4 separate regions of the Homo sapiens genome follow, and regions 1, 2 and 3 are each linked to region 4. Evidence: promoter capture Hi-C in 16 types of primary human blood cells and fetal thymus (Javierre and others, 2016). All regions are on one chromosome and are shown on one strand. The core of a region is centred on a gene start or on the middle of the fragment in contact, and the rest is flanking DNA. Distances in the headings are between cores, read along the strand shown. Region 1 overlaps YLPM1 (YLP motif containing 1). Region 2 overlaps YLPM1 (YLP motif containing 1). Region 3 overlaps YLPM1 (YLP motif containing 1). Region 4 holds the start of LTBP2 (latent transforming growth factor beta binding protein 2).

Region 1 (3,330 bases), core at 618-3,117, 170 kb before region 4:
ACTAACAAACTAAAGGCCCTTCAAAGGACAGTGAGCAGTACAGCAGGATGAGGTTAGAAACAATGTTAAGATGAAAAGAATCTGAGTTGTGATTGGCAGAGCAAACTGGGTGAGGTAGGGTGAGGGAGACATGAGGGTAATAGTTTTTAAATAACTGTAGTGACATGCTGTAGAAGAGGCATAGGATAATTCATTCTGTGTTGCTCCAGAGGCAAATCTAGAATCAACAGATAAAAGTTAAAGAATCACATTTAGGTTCAATGTAAAAAACAAACTTTCTAGAATCAATGCCTTATATGGCAGTGTTCCTAATCACAATGCCAATGTTAAGCATACAACTGCTCATCACAGAAAGTACAATGGACTTAAAGTGGGTCAGAAGTCCTTGGATTCTAATCTCATCTTGACCATTTACTAGCTGTGTTATATGAGGCAAGGTATTTACAACCTCTCTGAATCTCAGCTTTTCTTATGTATTTATTTACCTCCTGATATCACTAAGAGGAATAAATAAGATGATATGTGCAAGACTCATTGTGACAAACTGAAATGGAATACAAACGTGCGTTGCCGTAGACAGATATATTAGATAATTGCTAATATCCTCCCAGCACAGAGATTATTAACTTGAGAAGTTATTTTCTTCTGAAGACAAAACTTAAAATAGGTCCTAAATTCACACAGCCAAGATTTAGTAGGCAAAGAGAGAAAATATTAACATGACGGAAATCAAGGGAGCAGGAAATGTATGTTTCATGAGGTGTTAAGAATGTACTTCTCTGATAGCAAATTAGTTACCAGATCTAAAAGGCAATGCTCATTCCAGGAGATTAAGAACGAATTCAAATCAAGATGATACACATGCCAAATAAGCACTGACAGTATAGGCTTGAATCATGGCAGTAAACAGAGCTTAAATAGTACTTTTGCTTTGGGGACCCTCTAGACTCAACTGTACCTATTCTGGGGTTCTACTCACTCTGCTAAATAATCCTGACTGAGCAAGTTACGCAGTCCTCTCAGTGCCATTTTGTTAAGAGTAAATGGAGAATAATCTGCCTACTTCACAGGTTGTTGAGAAGACTTCCATGAGATAATAATGTGTGTAAAGTCTCTAGCAAGGCTTCTTGGTACACAGAGGAATTCATGTTAATTGCCCTTTCTCTTAACTTTGATTGTGGATGGAGTTTTGTGCCACACTGCTTTCAGAATTATAAGCTTGGGGAATAAAAGATATATTTTGTTTTCAAATGTTAAAATGAGGTTGAAAAAAATGATGATGTAGATCCACTGATACTGAGATGAAAATCTAAGCAATACGCAGATTGGTGGAAAAATAAGTTATAAGATAATCTACTCAGTATGATCCCATTTCTGCAACATATATTTTTAAAATGATTCTCTCCAGATGGTGGAATTAGGTGACTTTCACTTTTTTCTACACTTTTCTGTAATGTTTGAATTTTGTATAAGGAGTACCCATTTCTACTACAATTCCCAACTGAGAAAAAAACTGATTAAAGTATTTTTCTGGCTGAGCGTGGTGGCTCACACCTGTAATCCCAGCACTTTGGGAGGCCACGGCAGGCAGGGAGGCCAAGGCAGGAGGATCGCTTGAGCCCAGGAGTTTGAGACCAGCCTGGTCAACATAGGAAGATCCCCATCTCTACGAAGTATTTTTTAAAAACTGGCCAGATGTGTTGGTGCGCACCTCTGGTCCCAGCCACCTGGGAGGCTGAGGTGGGAGGACTGCTTGAACCCAGGAGGAAGAGGCTGCACTGAGCCATAATTCTATCACTGCACACTAGCCTGGGTGAAAAACCGAGACCCTGTCTCAAAAAATAATAATAATTTCCATAGAAAAGTTATCATTTAGGTCAACTTGGGGAGAAAAATCTATTTTTACAAACTTGGAAAAAATGAATTTAACAGTTTTTAGAAGGTAAAGAGAAAAAACTTACACACCAGCAATTTTTTTTCTTTCTAAATATGTTGTTCAGGATAAACAGAAGTATCTCCTTAACTGGGGAAAATATAAAGGATGTAAGCTCCATGGGGGCAGGAATTTTATGTGTTCTGCTATATTCACTGCTCTAAGTACAAGAGCAGGAACTTAAATATTTGCTGAATGGATAAAATAAAAGTCCTACTTACCTTATGCTAAATTTCACTGCCTCAAGCCAGTAGAATATTGGCTTATTCATCTTTATCTCTAACAACTAACAAATTATCTAACAAATAGTAATTGCCAATTCAATTATTTGTCAAATGAATGAAAAAGCAAACAAAAGATAAAGTTTAATATTATTTTTAAAGCTAATAAGTCAATACAAAATGATTAGCATTACTCTACAATACTACATTCATTCTGGATTATAATCTCTACATATAGGACAAAAGCAGAGACATCAAAGAAATGGGGGCATGTTACCTTTTCTAGATTACATACGTGATGTCTTAACAAGCAGACAATATAAGTACAAAGAGAGTATAAACATTGTATAAATGAAGCTTTTTATACCATCGAGAACCAAATAGCCTAAGTCAATAAAATAGCCAAACCAAAAAAAAAGAGAAAAAAAAGCAGACCTACCTTGGGCCTCTTGGACTTTCCAAGTAACTACTTCTAGGAGGATCTGGAAGCAGGCCACCTGATCTCACTGGCATGTCCTTCACTGCAGTGATTGGCTGAGATGGAGCAGCTGAAGACTCCCCAAGTCCTTGATCAGATGAGAATGAACTGTATGGCAGAGCAGACTTGCTCAAAGGAGCTTTTGAATTCACTTGTTCTGATGGACCAGCTGATTGCAACGGAGGATGGTAAGTTGTCGGTGGGGCAGAACCAAAAGACACAGGAGTAGGAAGCAGTGCTGGTCTAGGTTTCTCTGGAACTTGCGAGCTCTGTGAACTGGAGGCTGGTGGAACTGGGGCTGCTGTTAACTGAGGAGGTATCCCTTGTGGAACTCCAGGGGGAGGTATTCCTGGAGGAGGTGTAGCTGAAGACAATGGTGGGAGGGGCATGACAGGTGGAGGTGCTGTTGAAGAGAGAGATGGTGGGGGAAGAACTGGTGGTGGCCCTGCAGAAGACAGGGAAGGTGGGGGGAGAACTGGTGGTGGCCCTGCAGAAGAGAGAGAAGGAGGCATCCCTGGTGGGGGAACAGAGGTTGGTAGAGAAGGTGGCATAACAGGTGGGGGCATGCCAGGTGGTGGCACTGTAGCAGGGAGGGCAGGGGGCATCACTGGTGGTGGCAATGAAGGAGGCAACACTGGAGGGGGCATTGTAGGTAGAGGTGGAGGCATCTGAGAATATGGAACAAAAGGAGGTGGCAT
Region 2 (2,930 bases), core at 173-2,672, 200 kb before region 4:
TTGTAGAGACAGGGTTTCGCCATGTTGCCCAGGTTGGTCTCAAACTCCCAGGCTCAAGCGATCCGCCCACCTCAGCCTCCCAAAGTGCTGGGATTACAGGCCTAAGCCACCATGCCAGGCCATAACAGGCTAATTTCAAGAAGAGCTAGGAAAAGAAACAAAGGAAGAGAAACATTTACTAAAGCAGATAGGAAAGTTATTATGAAAAAAAAAGGAGATAAACAAGAGCTTCCAGACAAGAGTGCTGATACAGATAATATGAGGTTTAGAGTACAGTCACACATCACTTAGCAATGGGCATATATTATGAGGAATGGGTCATTAGGCAATTTTGTCATTGTGTGAACATCATGGAGTATACTTACACAAACCTAGATGATAAAGCCTACTGCACATCTAGGTTACAAACTTGTACAGCATGTTAATGTACTGAATACTGTAGGCAACTGCAACACAATGAAGTATTTGTGTACTTAAACATATCTAAACACAGAAAAGGTACAATAAAAATACATTATAATCTTATGGGACCACCATATATGCAGTCCTTCCTTAACCAAAACATCATTATGCAGCGCATGATAGTACTCTATTATTCTATGTTTCTTAAAATCACCTTATTTATTTCTTTAAGCTTTCTTCCATGAATATTTCTCTTGCCACAAGTCTGGTTATCTGCACTCATTTCAGCCAAATATACCTAAGCAAGAATGAATAATAATTAGGCAAAGATATATAACATTTACATGACAACACAAAGTACTTTAAAGTTCTTTAAGCTTCTACCTCAAATCCCTTGGTTTTTGCTGCACTCCAAAACTGGTCAAAATGCCTAACTCTGTCATTGATGGCATCCAGGATGATGAAGGGAAAAAAGCCATCATCCAGAGTCTTTTTGAAAGTTTTGAACATGCTGGTGCGGTAAGTCTCCTCCATCTCAGCTTCATATTCATATTCCATTACCTAAGGTCCCCCAAAAGAGATATGGAATTAGCAAAAGCAAAGAATCATCCAAAACCTTTTCCTTGGTTAGTATTTGGATAGAGATGACTTTGTAGTCTTTCCTTCACACCCAAGTACTAAAGTACTGTGTTCGGAAAAGAGAGAGGTCCCTGCCCTCAAAAAAGCCACATTTCTCTCCAAACACATTTTCCTTTAAATACTATTAATGAATCAGAACGAGATCTGAGATGAATACCATACCTTCTTTTTCACTTTCTTTCCAGAATCTGGATCTTTTTCTTCTTTTTCCACTTCAGTGATGAAGTAATCATCCAGGCTTAGAACTCTGGGTGCAGGTCCTCCAAATTCTACCTCCTTATCCTAAGAATCATACAGTCAAGAAGGTTAAAACGAATTTATGGAATAAATTAATGTTCACACCAAAGTTCCCTCTTGTGGCTAAATAATATACAATCTTCTGGTGGTTTCAAATCAAGCAGAGGCAAAAATGTTTCTCTGAGTAGATAAAAATATATATGGGACAACATCTACCACATGGGCCAACTGTAATGGATCAAATGGAAGACAATTCTATTGGCATTATGTTGCTTGCTATTAATAAGAAGGCAAGTGACTACTAACACAAGCAGCACAAGCAGCTGATTTTTCAGCTTCCCCATACTCACTCGAATAAGTTTTGCAACATGTGTCTTTCCACTGCCAGGTAATCCTCTCATTATAACAACAATCTGAAACAGAATAGACCAAAAAAAAAAAAAAATCACTGAGAGAAAATTTTCTGCAATGAGATAACAGTTAACAATGACCTACCATTTTCCAGGATAGACTATACAACAGGCCATGAAACAAACCTTCATAAATTTGAAAGGACAGAAATAATATAAAGTATGTCACTGGACCACAGTGGAATGAAATTAGAAATTAATAGTAAGAAAAAATTAGAGAAACTCACAAATACGTGAAAACTAAACAACATACTCCTAAATAACCAATGAATCAAAGAAAAAATGAAGAGGAACCAGAAATCAAGAGGAGCCAGAAACCAGGAGGAACCAGAAAATACTCTGAGATGAATGAAAAAAACACAACACACCAAAGCTTACAGGATACAGCTAAAGCAGTGCTTAAAAGGAAATTGATAGCTATAAATGCCTATAGTAGGAAAGAAATAGGTCTCAAATCAATAACTTAACCATCCACTTTAAGACACTTGAAAAAGAAGAGCAAACTAAAGAAACAGAGGAAAGAAACAATAAAGATTAAAGCAGAAGTTAATAAAATAGAAAACAGAAAAACAAAAGAGAAAAAGTCAATAAAACCAAACGGTGGCAGTGGTTCTTTAAAAAGACCAACTTTTTTTTTTTTTTTTGAGATGGAGTCTTGCTCTGTTGCCCAGGCTGGAGTGCAGTGGTGCAATCTTGGCTCATCGCAACCTCTGCCTCCCAGGTTTGAGCGATTCTCATGCCTCAGCCTCCCAAGCAGCTGGGATTACAGGTGCCTGCCACCACGCCCGCCTAATTTTTGTGTTTTTAGTAGAGATGGGGTTTCACCGTGTTGACCAGGCTGGTCTTGAACTCCTAGCCTCAAGTGATCCGCCCACCTCAGCCTCCCAAAGTGCTGGGATGACAGGCATGAGCCACCACGCCTGACTAAGATCAACAAAATTGATGAACTCTTACCTAGGCTGAATAGAAAAAAAAGAAGATTCAAATTACCAGAATCAGAAATGAAAGCTGGGCTCAGTGGCATGTGCCTATAATCCCAGTTCCTCAGGAGGCTGAGGCAGGAGGGTCACTTGAGCCCAGGAGTGCAACCCCAGCCTGGGCAATAGTGAGACTCTGCCTCGAGTAAAAAAGAAATGAAGGAGGAGACATTACTACCAACCTTATAAAAAAGATTACAAAGGAATACTATGAACAATTGTATGCCAACAAATTAGATAATTTAGGTGAAACAGACAAATTCCT
Region 3 (3,157 bases), core at 422-2,921, 190 kb before region 4:
TTTTTAGTAGAGACGGGGTTTCACTATATTGGCCAGGCTGGTCTCGAACTCCTGACCTCATGATCCGCCTGCCTCAGCTTCCCAAAGTGCTAGGATTACAGGCGTAAGCCACCACGCCCGGCCTATTTTTTTCAACTCTTTAGACCAGAGGTTGCAAAATGGTGGCCCATGGGCCAAATATGGCCTAAAAAGGTTTTCAAAATGTGGCTTTCACATCAGTTTTTAAAATTTGAAATTAGCTGTCATATTTACAAAGCAAAATATTTCATATATAAATTCAAATCTTAAAGAGATATGGTAACACCAGGCCTACATTCCCACATGCCAACAATCAGCTGAGTGCAGTAGAGGCTGCCCATGTTAGATGAAACAACCTGTCACAATCTTCACCGTACTCTACAGAGTTATACTTGGCCCACTTTCACTCATTTTTGTTATCTGATTCTTGGGGACATTTTAATTTATGGCCCCTGCTGTAGATGGTGAGAACAACTGTCAGTCTATACCTTTAAAAACAACATTTCATATTCCTGAAGATAATTATGTAATCCTTCGGTTTTTTCTTTAAACTGACGAAATTCCTTTTACTTTTTTTCACAATGCCTACCTTAAACATAGGTAAAATCCACTACAATTTCTTAAGACCTTTTACAATTTTCTCCTTACATTAAAGTGACCCAAATGAGGGTCCACAAATGAGGGACCACAAAGTAAGGGTCAAGTGTGTAAGATTATTTACTGCTCAGGTAAATCCCATCATCACATCCCTTATGATACTCCTTACGACTTTACACTGACACAACATAAACGACTTGTATTCGGCTATGACATTATCCATCACTCCCTATATATTGTTTAATTATGTTCATGTTGCCTAGAAAGCTTTAAAAAAGGATGAAGCAGCAGCAGCACCTTTTATCCAGCATTACCATGCAAAGCAATAACGAATTAAAAAGAAATTTAAAAAGGAAAAAAAAAGAAACCTTGGCAGCTTAACAACACCAATCAGCTTGGTATTCTCCATAAATAACACAGATTTTAGAGTTTTAGACAGATTGAGTTCAAAGGCCGGGTTTGCCACTTACTAGCCAAGGGAACTTAACCTCTTTGAACTTTAGTGTCATTTGTGAAGTGGGGATAATACTACCTTATCTTTGCAGGCCTTTGAGATAGACAGACTGACATAATATACACTCAATTATTAGCAAGTGCCCAGTTACACGGTAGGTGTTAAAATTAAAGGTGTCTATAACTTAAAAGTGAATAGTGTAGTAGCTAAATATTCTATAGCATGCTTTCCACATTTTCTTCATGAGTAATCTGGAAAAAATAAACCTCTTAGCTATAGACCATACAAACCTGCCGTATCTGGTCTTTCATCATTACCTTTTCTTCACCGTATTTTTCTTTCCTAGTTCTAAAGTTTAAGTTATAATTTATTGTTAAGATCCACAAATGTAAACCAGAATTGAAAAATGGAAGAAATACATTGGAATTTATCAAAACCTAATCATTAATTGACTTTCTCAAAAAAATTGCTTTAAAAAAGTTTTCAATCTGTCACTGACTTCTAAATTCCTATCCCAAGATACAGCTGGTTTAAGGATTAAATGAGTTTATTATACACAACACACTTAGTACAGTTCCTGGCCCGGAGTAAGCATGCAATAAATGTTAGCTTTTGTTATTGTTGTTACCACAAGAAAAGAGGAAAATTATGTAGATACCTATACACAGTTGATTGTAAGTCAAGAAATCCTATTTTCCATTTCACAAAGAAAACATTTGGTTATGTAGAAACAAATAACATCCTCAAGGAGAAATATCTGCTTTTAGTTATAATGAAAGATAAAACATCCCCAAAAGAAAGTATCAATAGTTAAGACAAATCTGAGGATGCTCCTAAGCAAACCATTCTTAGCTTCAACAAAGAAAAATACAGCACTTTCCAAAGTTTTATCAATGATTAGTGAATATAAAGTCTATCAGATCTAATACCAAAGAACAAACTGATTACTGGAAAAAATGAAGGTTACACATGAACCCTGTGAAATCCAGAGCACTGAAAAGTTGAAGTTTGACACTTGAAACATGCACAGGCATGGCATGCCAGCAACACTTCTACAAAGGCCAAGACAGCAATCAATTTTCACATCTTAGGGCATAAGTTTATCATTAACACAGTTCCTAAATACCCATTCTAACCCTAAAACAGCACTGAATGACCAGAAATATAAATTAAAAGTATGTGATAAGAACTTGAAGTAAAATGATTCCATTCAAATATATCATATCACTTTAAAAAGAGCAGTCTGAATGTGGTTTTTATTAAAAGAAAGGATCTGAAGGAGTCAACTTACCGAAGCATTTTCAGTTCTTGTGCAGCTTTCAAAATGATTTCATGCTGCCTCTGACTGAGAACCATTACCCCTCCAAGGCCTTGGTCAGAGTCTAAGCTTGCATCGGACCCCATCATTTCTGAGGAATGATGTGAGGAGGGCATATGTTCCGCCATGGGGGAATGTCTATCCACATCAGATGGGTACCATCTGTCTGACAACCGTTCTCTTTCCCAGTCCATTCTGTCAGGAACATAATCTCGCTTTTCCCGCCATGTATCTCCTCTTTCTGGATACTCTCGAATCCTCAACTCACCCCTATCACGGAAATCTCGATCATACCCATGCTCTCGATTTCTTTCTTCTCTCCATCTATCATCCCGATATCTATCCAAAGGTGGAAGAGGTGGGAGGGGCGGTAAAGGTGGAAGAGATGGAATATCCCGTTCACGAAACTGTGATTCTTGTTCATCCAGTGGTCTCCCATAATCTCTGTCCCACTCATTATCCAAACTTCTATCATACATATCCATAGGTCTTGAAATCCGATCCACATCCCTGTCCATGTCCCTTTCCATTTCCCTATTGTAGTCCTCATCCATATCCTGGTCTCTCTCCCAATCATCCCACCAAGGGCCTCGCCTATCTCCATCATGAGACCGAGATGGTGGTGCTGAGAACCTGTCCTCTCTGTTATAGAGCTCTAGTGTATCATCTTGATAGTCACGTTCACATTCTCTCCAGTATCTCTCTCTATCCCAGTCATCGAGTCTTTCTCGTTCCATTGGAGCATTTCTACCATCTAATGGAAACTCTTC
Region 4 (3,099 bases), core at 583-3,082:
CAAACAAATCAATAACAAGATGATGTCAACTGTTTTATGAAGATGAAACAGGGTGGTGTGTTAGAGTCATGACTGGGGTGAGGGAGGGCTGCTCTAGATTGGAGGTCAGGGATGGCTACTCCAGGAGCTGATATTTAATCTGAGAGGAGCAGTGATGAGGAACTACCCTCTAACATCCTGGAGAGGAACCTTCCAGTAGAGGGAAGGGGGCATTCACTTGGCTTGTTCAAGGAGCAGAGAGAGGGCCAAGGCAGCACAGTGTGGTGGGTAAGGGAGAGCAAGAGGCCAGATGAAATCAGAGCGGGGGCAGCCAGCTAGGGTTTGTAGGCCAAGGCCAGGGGTCGAGGCTTTATTTCAACAGTAGATATTACCTGGGCTTGTCTTTTGTGTGGTGTGGGAGGTTGTGAACTGGTGCCCACATGCCAGCTCCTTCACTCTGCCTCTCTGGGAAATAGGCTGTACAAATGTGCCAGGGGCAGCCCTGTTGATCCAAGCCTTTAGGCTGTAGGGAGGGAGCATGGGTGAGAATGGTGTGCTGATTACTGGGGACACGCAGACAGCGGCAGTCAGCATTCCCACACCCCTGCCCGCCTCCCTGCTAACACAAGATGTGAATGCACACACTGGGTCAATCGGGGTCACCGAATCCCCCTCTGGGAAATTCCCGAGAGAGTGAAGGGCTGGGTGGGATCCCGGGAATGGATTCAGCCAGAGGCGGGAGGCCTAGATTCCACTCCCCTCTTTCACATGCGCTATCTCCTTGAGTGACTTACTCAAGAGGCTCCGTGTCTTTGCCTCGGTGAAAAAGAGGACCCCTTGGCCGGGCGTGGTGGCTCACGCCTTTAATCCCAGCACTTTGGGAGGCCGAGGCGGGCGGATCACCTGAGGTTGGGAGTTCGAGACCAGCCTGACCAACATGGAGAAACCCCGTCTGTACTAAAAAATAAAATAATATACAAAATTAGTCAGACTTGGTGGCGCATGCCTGTAATCCCAGCTACTAGGGAGGCTGAGGCAGGGGAATCGCTTGAACCCGGGAGGCGGAGGTTGCGGGGAGCTGAGATCGCACCATTGCACTCCAGCCTGGGCAACAAGAGCGAAACTCCGTCTCAAAAAAAAGAAAGAAAGAAAGAAAGAAAAGAAAAAGAAAAAGAAAAAGAGGACCCCTCTTCTACCGGCAGCCATCACCGCGCCAGGCTCAGGCGTGACCCTCACGCCAGTGGAAGGGGATTGAGATCCAGAGCGAAGGCGGCGGCGCCAGGGCATTGCAGCCACGGAGCGCCAGGGCCGCCAGCTCCGCCAGGGGGCGCGCCCGGGACCTCCCTGCGCTCCGCGCGCCGCGCCCCGCCCCGCGCCACCCCCGCTCCGGCCGGCCCTGCGGAGGGCGCCCCCAGCGGCCAGGGCGCAAGCGGAGGGGGCGGCGGCCCTGTTCCCCTACGCGGGCCTCGGCGCCCCTCCCGGCTTCCTTCAGACCTGCAAGGCTGCAGCCTGGGTCCCCCGATCCAAAGACGGTCCCTGAGGCGAGGGGCGGGAGAACGATTCGGGGCAGGTCTGCAGTTCGAACTTGCCCAGAGCAGGAGAAAGGCGGCCCAGTGTCCCGGTCGTGGCAGGCGCCATCTGCCCGACCAGCGCCTGGGTCAGCCCCGCGCCGCCCCCTGCTCCGCACGGGTTAATCCCCCTCGCCGCCCGCTCGCCGCCCGCTGGCTTCCCGGTGCCAAAGTGGGTGTTGCTGGAATTCCTCGCTCCCTCTCCGGTAATGAGGGGGCTGAGCTGTCCCTCCGAGGAGGGGGCCTGGTGTGGATAAAAGAGACGAAAAAGCCGGGGGAGGTTTCCAAAAATAAAACCGTCCGGGTCCCCTTCAGACGGCTGCAGGCACAGGGAGGAGGCGCGAAGGTGCAGCAGCCGTGCGAGCCCAGCTGGAGTAGGAGCGCGGACTCGAGGCTCGGGGCGCGCAGCCCTCGTTCCGCCGAGAGCCGGGCCCCCAGTCGGCCGCTTCAGGGCCCCCTAGACTCAGAGAAGCTGGCCGCCGGGCGGGGCCGGGAGAACAGCCCGCGGGCGTCCAGCGTGCCGACCACAAAGCTCTTCGCGGTGCCCGCGCGCACCACTCTCCAGCCGCCCCGCGCCATGAGGCCGCGGACCAAAGCCCGCAGCCCGGGGCGCGCCCTGCGGAACCCCTGGAGAGGCTTCCTGCCGCTCACCCTGGCTCTCTTCGTGGGCGCGGGTCATGCCCAAAGGGACCCCGTAGGGAGATACGAGCCGGCTGGTGGAGACGCGAATCGACTGCGGCGCCCTGGGGGCAGCTACCCGGCAGCGGCTGCAGCCAAGGTGTACAGTCTGTTCCGGGAGCAGGACGCGCCTGTCGCGGGCTTGCAGCCCGTGGAGCGGGCCCAGCCGGGCTGGGGGAGCCCCAGGAGGCCCACCGAGGCGGAGGCCAGGAGGCCGTCCCGCGCGCAGCAGTCGCGGCGTGTCCAGCCACCTGCGCAGACCCGGAGAAGCACTCCCCTGGGCCAGCAGCAACCAGCACCCCGGACCCGGGCCGCGCCGGCTCTCCCACGCCTGGGGACCCCACAGCGGTCTGGGGCTGCGCCCCCAACCCCGCCGCGAGGGCGGCTCACGGGGTGAGCATGGGAGAGGGAAGTTTGGAGGGTACAGAGGGGAGCCAGGGCTCATTTGTGGAGGGGCGTGCAGGCGAGAGGAGAGGGCGCCGCTCTCATACCCTCGTCCCTCTGTCTTTAGTACTTCGGGAAACAGCCCCGAGGTTCCAAAATCGGGATTGGAAGATTTGATCCGCTTTCGAAGAGTTGAAGGCAGATAGATCATCATCCTCATCCTTTCTTACCAACTCTCCCGGAGCCCCGACGTTAAATCCTTTCGCAAGGCGCCTCTCCACTCGCCCGCGTTCCTCCTGCCTGCAACTAACGAGCTCTTGTAGACTCTTGCAGCGCTGCCGGGATCTGAGAGGCAGCGGGGAGAGGGCAGGAGGGTGGGCGCTCCAGGCTCTTGACGCCCAGGGGAGGTTGAGCTGGCTCAGAGCGCGGGTTGGCGGAGGTGTCGGGGGCCCCATGGAGAGAAGGTAGATGCGTCTCCAGGAGGGGAGCC

The links. The method cuts DNA at HindIII sites, captures the fragments that hold promoters and counts their contacts. A CHiCAGO score of 5 or more calls a contact.
Region 1: a fragment that was not itself captured here is called in contact with the fragment with the promoter of LTBP2 in region 4 in 9 of 17 cell types (endothelial precursors, M2 macrophages, M1 macrophages and 6 more); the score reaches 11.2 in endothelial precursors.
Region 2: a fragment that was not itself captured here is called in contact with the fragment with the promoter of LTBP2 in region 4 in 7 of 17 cell types (endothelial precursors, megakaryocytes, erythroblasts and 4 more); the score reaches 14.7 in endothelial precursors.
Region 3: a contact is called between a fragment that was not itself captured here and the fragment with the promoter of LTBP2 in region 4, in 9 of 17 cell types (endothelial precursors, erythroblasts, megakaryocytes and 6 more). The highest score is 15.4, in endothelial precursors.

What each region holds. Positions count from the first base shown.
Region 1 is chr14:74,781,589-74,784,918 of GRCh38, reverse strand. YLPM1 (YLP motif containing 1) reads right to left here. Exons shown (of 21, transcript NM_019589.3): 4 at 2,594-3,330. Among named protein-coding and RNA genes, the nearest start is that of YLPM1, 20 kb to the right of the region's middle. The HindIII fragment of the contact is 1,293 bases long and covers 1,221-2,513 here.
Region 2 is chr14:74,814,964-74,817,893 of GRCh38, reverse strand. YLPM1 (YLP motif containing 1) reads right to left here. Exons shown (of 21, transcript NM_019589.3): 12 at 1,629-1,691; 13 at 1,204-1,323; 14 at 787-963; 15 at 617-700. Among named protein-coding and RNA genes, the nearest start is that of YLPM1, 53 kb to the right of the region's middle. The HindIII fragment of the contact is 1,282 bases long and covers 782-2,063 here.
Region 3 is chr14:74,798,901-74,802,057 of GRCh38, reverse strand. YLPM1 (YLP motif containing 1) reads right to left here. Exons shown (of 21, transcript NM_019589.3): 5 at 2,361-3,157. Among named protein-coding and RNA genes, the nearest start is that of YLPM1, 37 kb to the right of the region's middle. The HindIII fragment of the contact is 1,574 bases long and covers 885-2,458 here.
Region 4 is chr14:74,610,970-74,614,068 of GRCh38, reverse strand. LTBP2 (latent transforming growth factor beta binding protein 2) reads left to right here and starts at 1,832. Exons shown (of 36, transcript NM_000428.3): 1 at 1,832-2,618. The coding sequence starts at 2,125. LOC101928352 (a long non-coding RNA gene) reads right to left here and starts at 884. Exons shown (of 2, transcript XR_944029.4): 1 at 774-884; 2 at 21-502. RefSeq lists a silencer at 1,202-1,521 and an enhancer at 1,149-1,776. The HindIII fragment of the contact is 11,176 bases long and covers 1-3,099 here.